Regions from separate parts of the Homo sapiens genome. Here region 1 is linked to region 2. Evidence: promoter capture Hi-C in 16 types of primary human blood cells and fetal thymus (Javierre and others, 2016). All regions are on one chromosome and are shown on one strand. Each heading gives the region's core, a stretch centred on a gene start or on the middle of the fragment in contact. The rest is flanking DNA. Distances are from core to core; before and after follow the strand shown. Region 1 overlaps ZBTB40 (zinc finger and BTB domain containing 40). Region 2 holds the start of USP48 (ubiquitin specific peptidase 48).

Region 1 (6,538 bases), core at 1,124-3,623, 670 kb before region 2:
ATCACAGACATGATATATCCTTTATCTCATAAAAAGAAACAACAAATTTAAGCTATACTGAAATATTATTTCTTACCTGACAGATTGGCAAAACCCCAAAACTTTAACAGCATACTTTGTTAGCAAGACAGGAGAAACAGAGAAGAAGGGTTTAGGTATGAAATAAAAACTTCTTGGTAAAAAGGAATTTAATTTTTAATAGCAATCCTTAAAGTTTAAAACCAATGACAGCCTGGCACAGTGGCTCACACTTGTAATCCCAGCACTTTGGGAGGCCGAGGCAGGTGGATTGCTTGAGGCCAGGAGTTCAAGACCAGCCTGGGCAACATGGTGAAACCCCATCTCTACCAAAAATCATAAAAATTGGCCAGTTTCCTAATCCATTCTCAAAATTAATTAATTTTTTAAAAAAGTATTCAAGAAAAAGAGCCTGTTTATGAAGTTGGTGATACAACTACACAGAAGATAATTACATCAAGTGACTTTAAGACAATATCTGACTACACATCTCAAGTAGCATATATTCTAAGGAAAAAAGGAATAACAGAAAACCCAAACAGCATTCAGTAATATAAAGGTCAGTGTAGATAATGGCATTGCTACTGGCCTGGTTGATACCAGCAGCAGGGAAGTCCAGGGAGAGGGAGCAGCCTTGAAGCCTTGGAATGTGGCCCACTGGCCCCAGAAAGGATGAAGTCCTGTGGCCACTGAGAGATTTCAACTGGTGCTCAATATAAGGTGAATTGTGGGAGGAGGGGCTGCTCAGAGGCTTGAGAGACAGGCACAGCCACAGTTGGAGGGTAGCACTTGCTGGACCATCCTAAGGGCAGGCAAGCCATCCAAGAGTTTTAAAGCAAGGGAATCACATATTCCGATCTGTGCTTTATAAAGACCACTGGTAACAGTGTACCAAATAGATTGGAGAGGAATGAAGCTGAAAGCCACTGACCAACTAGAAGGCTGTTTCATAATCCAGGACAAGAGATTATAGCAACTCTAACCAAAGGAAGAGAAAGGGTAGAAGAAATCAACAGTCCTGTAGCCTAACTAAATATGTGCTGAAAGAGAAGATCATGGCACCATTCCCAGGTTTCTGCCTTTGGCAACTCTGTGGTGCCATCCACTGAGCCTAAGAACCAGGGAGAAGTACCAGGTGGAAGAAAGATGGCAAATTCACTGCTGCCAATGCCCTGGAGACCATCTTCTGGAGCTAATGGGGACAAGGAGCAAAAGGAGTCAAGAAGGAAAACTCAGGAAGACTCAATGGTCAGGCCCCAGTCCTAGAAAGCTGAGAAATAGGACGAAATTAGCAGGTTAGATTACCTCTTACAGTATTTTCTCAAAATAAGAAATAGAATCACCTACCGTTCACCTTTGTTTTTATGCTAAAAATAACCCCACTATAGCTAACACTAGCTAACAAATATTAACCAACAAATAACCAATATTTGGAGCCTGAAAACCTATTATTTACAGTTATAATCCTTTGTTTCTAATTTCCTCATCCTTCTTGGCCCATTTCTTGCATAAAGCATCCTCTACTGTTTGGTCCTGTTCCAGAACCACGCTAGTGCCTGCAGCAGAGGTCGCTCATGCAAACGCCTCCAGGGGTCAGACAGATGGAAAATCTCTAATGCTTAAATGGAAGTAACTACTTTTTAAACACTCTATGAGCCAAACTCTGGCCTATAGGAGTTTTCTATTGAGGTCCCAGTTTTACAGAATATCCTAAGATAAAGATATTTCCTTGTTTTTGTTTCCCTTTGGGTACTAATAAAACCAGAAATTACATTTATGAATTGCCTTTTTCAGAAGTCCAAGTATTAGTTAAATTCTGAGATAGGTTTTGCCTCAATATAGCAGCTTTTTCTTTTCACAGAGATAAAGAGAGGGGACTCTGTGGACAAATGCAGGGAAACAGCCTTTCTTTCTTTAATCCTCTGCTTCCTCAAGTCTATCCCCTCCCCTCTTCTTCTTTCCTTTAAAAAAAAAAAATAGAGACAGGGTCTCAACTGGAATGCAGTGGTCTGATCACAGCTCACTGCAGCCTCAACTCCTGGGCTTGCATAAGTGATCCTCCTGCCTCAGCCTCCCAGAGTGCTGGGATCACAGGCATGAGCCACTGTGCCCAGCCTTCTTTCCCTTTTAACCCAGCCTTCGTTAAGTCTGAGGAACTGACTCCATCTGCAAGAAGCTGATGCCTAGAAACAAAGCAGTGAGCTTCCACTACCTCCTCCTTTCCTCTATCAGTAGAAACAGTTATGATATCTGCTAACGAGGTTGCCTAGACAATAGGTCCACATCTCACCAGTCTCATGTAAATTAACAACAACCATCTGTAAGGCATTTATGAAGCAGTTCAATGGGCAGATATCTATGTTACACAAACATTCAACTATGCTTGACCACTTTAGACAGAAAACAAAGCCTGAAAAGACTTAAAATCTGAGATTAAGGTTACAGAGCAGTGAAACAGTACCTGGTTTCAGGGGAGATTCTCATCGCGCCTTCAGTTAGGTGATGTTACATGTGATGTTTCATTGTTGGTTCTGCACCTTTTAAAGGGTCAAGGGCCTTTCTGAGATCAGATTAAAGTAACTGGCTCTCTCCCCAGAAAAAATGACATTCACACAAATTTGCAGGCAACTTCAAAGGATTCATGGGTCTCTTGAAATTCAACCATTTACCCTGAGATTAACAATCTCTGACTTACATGGATCAGCATAATACATTTATGTAAGGAAATGAAATACGTGGCATCATAATTTTGAGGATTTGGAGTTAAATAACAACATTAGGGAAATGTAAGGAAAGCTGGCTTTCTTTCCTTATCCTTCTCTCTCGAGGGCTGCCAGAGTCTCAAAACTGCATGCTCCCTGCAAATGAAATACTGCACTCTCTGCTAGACTTACAGAAAGTGACAATCTCATCTCTCAATTTAAATGCCCTTAATATTTAATTCTTTCCTCTATGTGGTTAGTAGCTTGCTTTCTCCACATTATCCAGATGATGGCTTTGGAAGGCAGACTATTGGAGATCCAGAAAACCATATATCCCAATTCAATTTCCTTGTGAAAATCAAAGAGCTCACTCTGCTGAAGAGTTGAAAGAGGCTGAGGGGTCACTGCCTTCCCTCAGGGTGCTGGTTCAGGCAGTACTCGAGAAGGGTAATGTAAATACTCAGTACGAGGCAACAGGGCATACTAATTTGTTTTTCAATCTATTTTATTTCAGTTCAAAGCATCATTGCAGACAGATAGTCCAAGAAAACAAGCCACACTTGGGTTATACTCAGTCTTCCTCAATCTCCAAAAGCAGGTGAGTGTTGCCAAAGTGTGGCTCGTTTTCCGGGGCTGCCTGTCTGCAATGATGCTTTGAACTGAAATAAAATAGACTGAAAAACAAACTGGTATGCCCTGGCTCTTCTTGCAGTTTCATACTATCCTTCAAAGCTAGTGTTAGCACCTGCTCTTTACTGGAACCCAACAGACCCAAATCACAGAGTAAAACTGCAATACTTTAGATGCAAAGGTCCCACCCAAACCTAAAATAGCAATTTAATTCAGGGCTTGTTGTTTAACATTGCATTAAATGACACTCTCTGTCCAGTTCTTTGCTCCGTTTGCAGGGTTAGAATGTGTCTTCTGATGACATGTGCAATATGGTTACTAGGGAGAGTTTAAAGCGAAACCTGCCATGCTGTTCTTCTTACATAGTTCCCTTGATTTATTATTGCTTCTAATTTCTTACATTTATGAACCCGAACATTATCCTATTTTTACTTAGTCAAAAAGCCTGCCATTTGCCTCAAAGCATTCAATACTGTTTTAGAGTATGTGACATTATTTTGAAAACTTTTGGAGGAAACTTGAAATCATGCACAAACAAATTTTTAAATCGCCACCAACTAAAAGTCTAACATTTGTTTAGAATGCCTTAAGAGAATACATACACCTTTGATGGAGGAACATAAGTAGTTTCCAACTTAAAACACTAAAATGCTGAAAAGTGTTCTGCATAGACAGCTGTACAATTTGGCTTTAAAAAAATTAGATGCCATTTGGAAAAGTTCCTCTCCAAGCAGAAACACTAAGAAAAAACAAGATCTGCTCCCCTCTTTCTGGAGATAGAAAGTAGAGGGCTTCTATTTTTAATTGGATTCCCCCATTCTTAATTTTGTCTGTAATGTATTTCTGGATTTTTGTTATTAGTTAGCACTTTATAAAGTTTCCATTTGGAGCTAAATTTGGTTATTCAGCAATATGTGTAACAACAACAAAAAGAAAATACCATAGCTATGAATACAGTTTCTCTTATTTAATCTGCACAACCCTTTGAGGAGGCACCATTATCCACATTTTCCAGGTCAGATAACTAATCTGTAACTTGCCCTTGGGCGTGCAGTTCTCTCAGTAGTAGCTGGGTTCACGGCCAGGGACTGAGCACAGGAGTGAACCACAGCACAGTGACTCCCTTTGAGTTCTCCAACATCTCACGTTGTTACCCACCTTAGTCTCTGAACCTGCTGAAAAGTTCTTCCTCCCAGCTTCGTCTCTCCCTTTCCCCTTCTTGCTAGACTGGTTCCTTGTCACTCAACAAGTTTCAGCTTAAACTGCCTTTCTTAAGAGAGGTTTTCCCTGACCACCCAGATAAAAAGTGAGTCTCCCAGGTTAGTGTCTCTCTCCGTGCTGTTTTATTTCCTTTAGAGCAGTTGCCACAATTTGGAATAACTTTGTTATTTCTTTACTGTCTTGACACTAGGCTTTAGCTTCCAGAACAGAGCCCCAGGTCCATCTTGCTCACCCTGGTAATCACAGGACCTAGACAGTGGTGCTTGGTACATGGAGACACTAAAATATTTGTTCGAGGCCGGGCGCGATGGCTCACGCCTATAATCCCAGCACTTTGGGAGGCTGAGGCGGGCAGATCACTTGAGGTCAAGACTTCAAGACCAGCCTGAACAACATGGTGAAACTCTGTCTCTACTAAAAACACACAAAAAATTAGCCGGGTGTCGTGGCACATGCCTGTAGTCCCAGCCATTCAGGAGGTTGAGGCAGAAGAATCACTTGAACCCGGGAGGCGGAGGTTGCAGTGAGCCGAGATTGTGCCACTGCACTCCAGCCTGGGCAACACAGCGAGACTCTGTCTCAAAAAAATAAATAAAATAAAATAAAATAAAAATTTGTTCAATGAATGACCTAGATTTGTTTACTTGGTATTTACCTGCAAACACCAGGTTGTGGGTACTGGCTAGCAGCTGAGGATAACAACAGTAAGGTGTGGTCCCTGCCCTTAAGGACCTCCTAAGCTAGTAGGAAAGACAATAAACAGATGGAACAATACAGGGTGTTCAGTGTGATCAGATTAGCTTCAGCTCTCAGCTGAATGCCTTAGCTATGTAACCTCGAACATCTCTCCGACGTGAGTTTGTTTCCTCTATGCGTAAAATGGTAATATTAATACTACTTATGTCATAGTATTGGTGTGAGGATTAAGTGATAGTCCATATAAATAAAGCACTTAGCACAGTACCTGGCACAAAATAATCACTCAGTAAATAGCAACTAATAATTTTATTATGATGATGCTATTACAGCTGTATTTGAAATTATCTTTGTCTACCTGTATACCACTTGTCCAAGCCCCACATAGAATTTAAATTCCATGGAAGGGCAGAAATCATATTTGTCTTGTTCACCACTGTATTTCCAGGAATTTGAAACGTCTCTGGTACACAGTAAGTGCTCAACAAACACTAAATGATTAATGAATGCATGCGTACATGCATGGGGTGTTCTGAAACCATTTGTTAAACCACTAATGAATAGCTAAGTTTGGGGACTACTGACATAGAAGAAAAGTGTTTATATTAGAAAGGAGGGGCAGAAGTTTGATGATTTAGCTAAGTAGAAAAAAATTTCACTGAGATTGTAATTAAATCTCCATTAACCATACAAAGATCTGGGTACAATTCCAGGGAAGAACAAACAATTCCAGGTAGAAAAGACTTGAAAGAATAAAATCCAAAGCAGTTTGACCGGTGCCATCAGGCAGGGGGCTCCCAGGGACAGGCTCAATTTGGCAGCCCTATAACCTAGTACACCTATACATATATTAACCACTCAGAACAAATTTCTTCCTCGTTTGTAAAATGGAAATACCATACTTACTTATAAAGCGTCGTCATAAAGTAGAACAACACTTGTATGAATATAAATAAAGCACCTGGTTCATTGCAGCACTGGCTGCATGGTACCAACGCTATTCAAAGCAGGAGAAACTCTGAATAGTCAGTAAGACCAGAAGGGAAGCCAGAGTGTTCTGTCAACTAAAGTGCTCTCGGTGCATCGCGCAGTTTTAACTCTTTTCCCACTCCAGAAGAACCGACGAGAGGAATAGCTGAATGACAACACTGATCCAATCTCCTTGTGTTTAGGGCAGGGGTCAGTAAACTTTTGCTGTAAGGGACCAGACAGAAATATTTCTGGCTTTGTGAGCCAGCCGATCAAAGCCAAGCAACGGCTGCGCAACTACT
Region 2 (6,533 bases), core at 1,908-4,407:
CTTCATGGTGAATGATAGTCACAATTTCATCATGTGCTAAGTGAAGCAAGGGATGACACAGGGAGCTGTGGATACTGAGGAAAGGGGTGTGACCAGACTTGAAGGTCAAATATCAGAAAGGTGAAGATATACCGGTCAGGTCAACATCATCAAGCTGTAGCAAGTCCTCATTCTGTCCAAGGCGTTTGAACCAGAGTGACTCTATCTTGAATGGGGGCTGGGTAAAATAAGGCTGAGACCTACTGGGCTGCATTCCCAGGAGGTGAAGACATTTTTTTTGCCTGAGTTTCCCACCGTCGCCTGGGATGGAGTGCAATGCCACGATCTTGGCTCACTGTAACCTCCGCCTCCTGTTCAAGCAATTGTCCTGCCTCAGCCTCCTGAGTAGCTGGGATTACAGGTGCCCGCCACCATGCCTGGCTAATTTTTGTATTTTTAGTAGACCCAGGGTTTCACTATGTTGGCCAGGCTCATCTCGAACTCCTGACCTCGTGATCCGCCCACCTTGGCCTCCTAAAGTGCTGGGATTACAGGCATGAGCCACCATGCCTGGCCTAAGGCATTCTTAGACACAGGATGAGATAGGAGGTCTACACAAGATACAGGTCATAAAGACATTGCTGAGAAAACAGAATGCAGTAAAGAAGCTGGTTAAAACCCACCAAAACCAAGATGGCCATGAGACTGACCTCTGGTCGTCCTCACTGCTTATTATATGCTAATTATTATACGCTAATTATTATACATTAGCATGCTAAAAGACATGCCCACCAGTGCATGACAGGTTACAAATGCCATGGCAAAGTCAGGAAGTTACCCTATATGGTCTAAAAAGGGGAGGAGGCCAGGCGCGGTAGCTCACACCTGTAATCCCAGCACTTTGAGAGGCCGAGGTGGGCGGATCACCTGAAGTCCGGAGTTCGAGACCAGCCTGACCAACATAGTGAAACCCCGTCTCTACTAAAAAATACAAAAAAATTAGGCGGGCGTGGTGGCAAAAGCCTGTAATCCTAGCTACTTGGGAGGTTGAGGCAGGAGAATCGCTTGAACCCAGGAGGCGGAGGTTGCAGTGAGCCCAGACCACACCATTGCACTCCAGCCTGGGCAACAAGAGCAAAACTCCGTCTCAGGAAAAAAAAAAGTCTTCTCTGCCTCACTATACAAAATGCAAATCTCCATTATAGCACTCAACAGCTGTATATCTTCAGTGGGTACTTTGAATAAAGGTCTTCCTTTTTTTGTTTTTTTTTTTGTTGTTATTGTTGTTTTATTGTTGTTGTTATTGTTGTTTTGTTTTGTTTTTGTTTTTTTTTTGGAGACAGAGTCTCGCTCAGTCGCCCAGGCCGGAGGGCAGTGGCGCGATCTCCGCTCACTGTAAGCTCCGCCTCCTGGGTTCCCGCCCTTCTCCTGCCTCAGCCTCCAGAGTAGCTGGGACTACAGGCGCCCGCCACTACGCCCGGCTATTTTTTTTGTATTTTTAGTAGAGAGGGGGTTTCACCGTGTTAGCCAGGATGGTCTCGATCTCCTGATCTCGTGATCCGCCCGCCTTGGCCTCCCAAAGTGCTGGGATTACAGGCGTGAGCCACCGCGCCCGGCGGCAAGGTCTTCCTTTCAAGCCATAACTCTCACCTGTCCCTGTCTCAGAAATTGTGGCCCTCTCACGCCAAGCTTTTCTCTTCTGTGCCTTTGCTCCTTGTGGTTTCTTTTTTTCTGGAATGGTGTCTTTCTTCTATCCTGGATAAGTCCAACTCACCCGTTAAAAGCGGGCTTCGGAATTACTTCTGGGAAGCCTTTTCTCAAGTACCCCGAAGCCTCCCAAGACTGGGATGGGGATCTTTGTATTTCTACCGCTCACTCCCTAACCCACTTCCAAGGGCAGGGACCACATCTTACTTTCTTCTGCCTTCAGCGAATTTTTTTGTTTTTTTTGAGACGGAGTTTTACTCTTGTTGCCCAGGCTGGAGTGCAATGGCGTTATCTCGGCTAACCACAACCTCCGCCTCCCGGGTTCAAGCGATTCTCCTGCCTCTGCCTCCCGACTAGCTGGGATTACAGGCATGCGCGACCGCGCCTTGCTAATTTTGTATTTTTAGTAGAGACGGGGTTTCTCCATTTTGGTCAGGCTGGCCTCGAACTCCTGACCTCAGGTGATCCGCCCACCTCGGCCTCCCAAAGTGCTGGGATTGGATCCTTGAGCCACGGTGCTCGGCCCAGTGAATGTTTATCTAAAGAATTCAGCCTAAGGTTTTCCAGCAGGCAAGCAGCTGAGTCAGAAGTTAGCGCTTAGATTCTGGCAGAGCTCTAATTCAAATTCAAAATTCTTAAATATCCTCACTTTAGTAGAGTTCTTTACAGTTTGCAAAACAATTCTCATAAAGCTACTCTTTATGTCCTGGGGCAGGAGTCGCAGAAAGGAAATGTTTTAAACCAGGAGCTAGAGAGGAACTAGAAAATCCTGGCATAGAGGTAACAGTCTTGAGAAGGGAGCCAACAGCAAACATGACCTTGCGCACCAGAGAAACTCCACCCTGGCACCTCGGACCCCCGCCCGCACAGTCTGCGGCGCACTGAGCACTCCCACCTCGAAGACTACAAATCCCAGCATGCCTCACAGTCAGTGGCAGGACGCAGGGCATGCCGGGACACGTAGTCCCACCCTAGCACGGGAAAAGGCCGGAAGGTCCCATGACGTCAGGAGGGCTCGGGAAAGGGGTTCGGAACCGGTCTAGGCTCAAGTTAAATCTCCCTCTAAAGAGCCAACACTGGTTTCTTTGGCGACTCGGTTTCTACTCTAAACAGGTCCCGCTCCACAGTCTGGGCGGGCCTGTGTGTGCGTTGAGTAGCCTCTAGCGTGAAAACTTCATGGTTAAAAGGGAAGTACCGGAGGCAAGAAATAGCTTTCGAGGCACTGGTTTGTTAGAGTAGTGGTACGTAGTGCGCCGCCCTGAACGGGGGCTGAGACGCTGCTTTTCCAGAAGTGCCAGTGAGGACGTGGCAAGACCGCCTCGGACGTACGCTTCCTCTACCTCAGCCCGTCGGGTTAGGGGCGCGGGAGGCGCAGAGGCTGCTGGGAACGCGCATGCGCTCAGCGCGGCGGGGAGTCCACCTTTAACGTCCGCGGGCGCGGGGTGTGTCGGGTGTCGACGGCGGCGCTTTGCGGCCGGTCGTGCGGGTCGGGCGCGGGCGGGCGCGGCGGCAGTGGCGCGCACAGGTGATTGACTGGCCAGCTGCCTGAAGGAGCGCCAGGTCCTCCTTGCTGGCAGGTGGCGAAGCCCATTGGGGCGGCGGTGCAGACCGCGGCGGCGGCTGCGGCGGTCTGGCTCGGGAGGCGTTCCTGGGGCCAAGGCCATGGCCCCGCGGCTGCAGCTGGAGAAGGCGGCCTGGCGCTGGGCGGAGACGGTGCGGCCCGAGGAGGTGTCGCAGGAGCACATCGAGACCGCTTACCGCATCTGGCTGGAGCCCTGCATTCGCGGCGTGTGCAGGTGAGGCCCGCGCACCGCGCCTCGCGGGCTCCTCGCGCCGGACCTTGGAAAGCCCGGGCGGGGTAGGGGAAAGGAAGACGGCAGCCCTTTGCGTGCATTTGGGAGGCGCGGAGCCGAGCGAGGTGGAGTTTCCCCCTTTGCGCCGTCTGCGCGACCTGGGAAACGCAGGCTTCCCGGGCTGTGCGCGGAGGTGATGCTGGCCAAAGCACTTTAGGAAGGTTTGGGTTCCCATCCAGAAGATGGCGGTGGAGATGAAGGCAGGAGCTGAGAGCTTAGCAAGCGTTGATGGTTGGGGTATCTTGGCCACAGCACGGCTCTTTCGTTTGTAAAAAGGAACTTTTTGGAAGTGAGCTTCATCACAGTGTATCTTGTTGGTGTTGACACCGAAGGCCTGATCATCTTAGTATTATTTTTGTAGAGGGCAGCTTTAGAAAAAACTGTGGTCAGCCTACGTCATCGATACCCTGCACCCCCGTTGGCCTTCCCTCACTCGTTAATCTAGTATTTTTTTTAAGCCTTTCTTTGGTCGTTCTGGTTCGACACCAGTTTACCGAGTACCAAGTTTAAGCTGTGATAGTGCTGTCCTTCACGTCTGCGCCGCCCTTGAACTTTACCTTTCCTTAACCCCCTCATATAGATTGAATCCTTAGGCTTTGCTCCCGTTTATTCCCTTTTTTCCACCTTGTAACGCGGGAACTATAGTTTTTGTTTCAGAATGTTGTTGAAATTGACTTGGCCAAGCCGGGCATGCTCAGTAGCCGTCTTTCGGCAGGCATTTAGGAAATGCTTTCTGGAGTTTTTACATTCCGCTGGGGGATCCGGAAGGAATGGAAGTCATGGTCTCTGGCTTTGGAGCTTAAAGTCTAGTATGAGAAGTGAAATAAGTTAGGGAGTTTCTATAAAGCAAACGAATAAGTCCAAGCTCTGGGCGTCTGTCTCACAAGGAGGGTAAATCTGACTTTAACAGTAAGTTCTGGAATGTTTGAAGTCTGTGTATAATAGAAATAATCAAGCTTCAGTCAGTTTCTCAACGTAATTAGTTTCCAGACTAACCAAATAATGTAAACTACTAATAGTTCTGGTGGTTTTTGAGACAGGGTCTCACTCTGTCACACAGGCTGGAGTGCAGTGTCACGAGCTCGGCTCACTGCAACCTCCGTTTCCCAGGCTCAAGCGATCCTCCCACCTCGGCCTCCGGAGTAGCTGGGATTAGAGGCACGGGCCACCACGCCCGACTCAGTTTTGTATTTTTAGTGGAGACGGGTTTTCGCCATGTTGGCCAGGCTGGTCTCGAGCTCTGGGCTCAAGCGATCTGCCCACCTCTTCTGGGATTACAGGCGTGAGCCACCATGCTGGGCCAATTTCTGATATTTATTTATTTATTGAGACGGTGTTTCGCTCTTATTGCCCAGGCTAGAGTGCAATGGCGTGATCTCGGCTCACTGCAACCTCTGCCTCCTTGGTTCAAGCGATTCTCCTGCCTCAGCCTCCTGAATAGCTGGGATTACAGGCATGCACCATCATGCCCGGCTAATTTTTTTTTATTATTTTTATTTTTTGTATTTTTAGTAGAGACAGGGTTTCTCCATGTTGGTCAGGCTGGTCTCGAACTCCTGACCTCAGATAATTTGACCGCCTTGGCCTCCCAAAGTGCTGGCATTACAGGCGTGAGCCACCGCCCGCCAGGCCGATACTTTTTTTTTTTTCGAGACAGCGTCGTGAGACGCTGGATAAATTTAAAAAAATAAATTTTTAAAATAAAAATTTTAAAAGAAAAAAGAATAGGCCGGGTGCGGTGGCTCATGCCTGTAATCCCAGCACTTTGGGAGGCCGAGATGGGCGGATCACGAGGTCAGGAGTTCGAGACCAGCCTGGCCAGCATGGTGAAACCCCGTCTCTACTAAAAATACAAAAATTAGCCGGGGGTGGTGGCGGGCGCCTGTAATCCCAGCTACTGGGGTGGCTGAGGCAGGAGAACCCTGGAACCCGGGAGGTGGAGGTTGCGGTGAGCCGAGATCACGCCACTGCACTCCAGCTTGGGCAACAGGGCGAGACTCAGTCTCAAAAAAAAAAAAAAAAAAAAAATTATCTTATCTTGGCTCTGTATGCCCTGTATGTTCCGCCTCTAAATTTCCCTATTCTGGACATTTCATATAAATGGAATCCTAAAATACGTGGACTTTTGTGACTGATTTCCTTTACTTATGTATTTAAGGGTCATCCATGTTGTAGCATGTTTCAGCACTTCATTTCATTAAAAAAATACCTGGGAAATACATATGACAGTGTTTACCATTTTAAAGTGCACAATTCGGTGGGTTTCAGTACCTTTATAGTGTTGTACAACCATCACCACTGTCTGGTTCCAGAACTTTTCATTATCCTAAAAGGAAACTGAGCATCTGTTAGTCACTTCCCATTTTCCCCCCTCGCCCAGCCCCTGGCAACTGCTAATCTACTTTCTGTCTCTGGATTTCTCTATTAATATTTCATAGCAATGGAATTATACAGTACGTGGCCATTTGTGTCTGGTTTCACTTAACGTAATGTTTCCAAGGGTTATCCCTGCTGCGCATGTGTCACTACTTTATTCCTTACGGCTGAGTAGTATTCCATTTTATGGATAATACCACATTTTATATATCTATTCATCAGTTGAGGGACATTTTGATTATTTCCACCTTTTGCTTATTTTGAGTAGTACTTCTCTGAACATTTGCATACAAGTTTTGGTCTGAACATCTGATTTCAGTTCTTTACCTGGGAGTGGAATTACTGGGTCATACACAGTCAATTCTGTGTTTAACTTAACCGAACCGCGAAACTTCCACAGTGGTTGTACCGATTTACATTCCCACCAGTGATGTATGAGGGTTCAAATGCTTCATCATCCTCATAAACAGGTACTATTTTCTGTTTTTCTGGTTAGGCCCTCCTACTTGGGTGTGAAGTGATGCATCTTTGTAGTTTTGATTTGCATTTTCCTAGTGACTAATGAGTTCAGCGTCTTTTCATGTGCTCGTTGCCTCTTTTCCTTTTATTGATCAATAA

Evidence for each region. The method cuts DNA at HindIII sites, captures the fragments that hold promoters and counts their contacts. A CHiCAGO score of 5 or more calls a contact.
Region 1: a contact is called between a fragment that was not itself captured here and the fragment with the promoter of USP48 in region 2, in 5 of 17 cell types (naive CD8 T cells, activated CD4 T cells, naive CD4 T cells and 2 more). The highest score is 8.5, in naive CD8 T cells.

Annotation. Positions count from the first base shown.
Region 1 is chr1:22,452,582-22,459,119 of GRCh38, reverse strand. All of the region lies in intron 1 of ZBTB40 (zinc finger and BTB domain containing 40), which reads right to left. Among named protein-coding and RNA genes, the nearest start is that of ZBTB40, 4.0 kb to the right of the region's middle. The HindIII fragment of the contact is 9,659 bases long and covers 1-6,538 here.
Region 2 is chr1:21,779,773-21,786,305 of GRCh38, reverse strand. It overlaps USP48 (ubiquitin specific peptidase 48), which reads left to right and starts at 3,157. Exons shown (of 27, transcript NM_032236.8): 1 at 3,157-3,482. The coding sequence starts at 3,349. RefSeq lists silencers at 472-646, 3,034-3,393 and enhancers at 2,774-2,823, 2,569-3,339, 3,764-3,863, 3,340-4,111, 4,424-4,473. The HindIII fragment of the contact is 2,827 bases long and covers 1,671-4,497 here.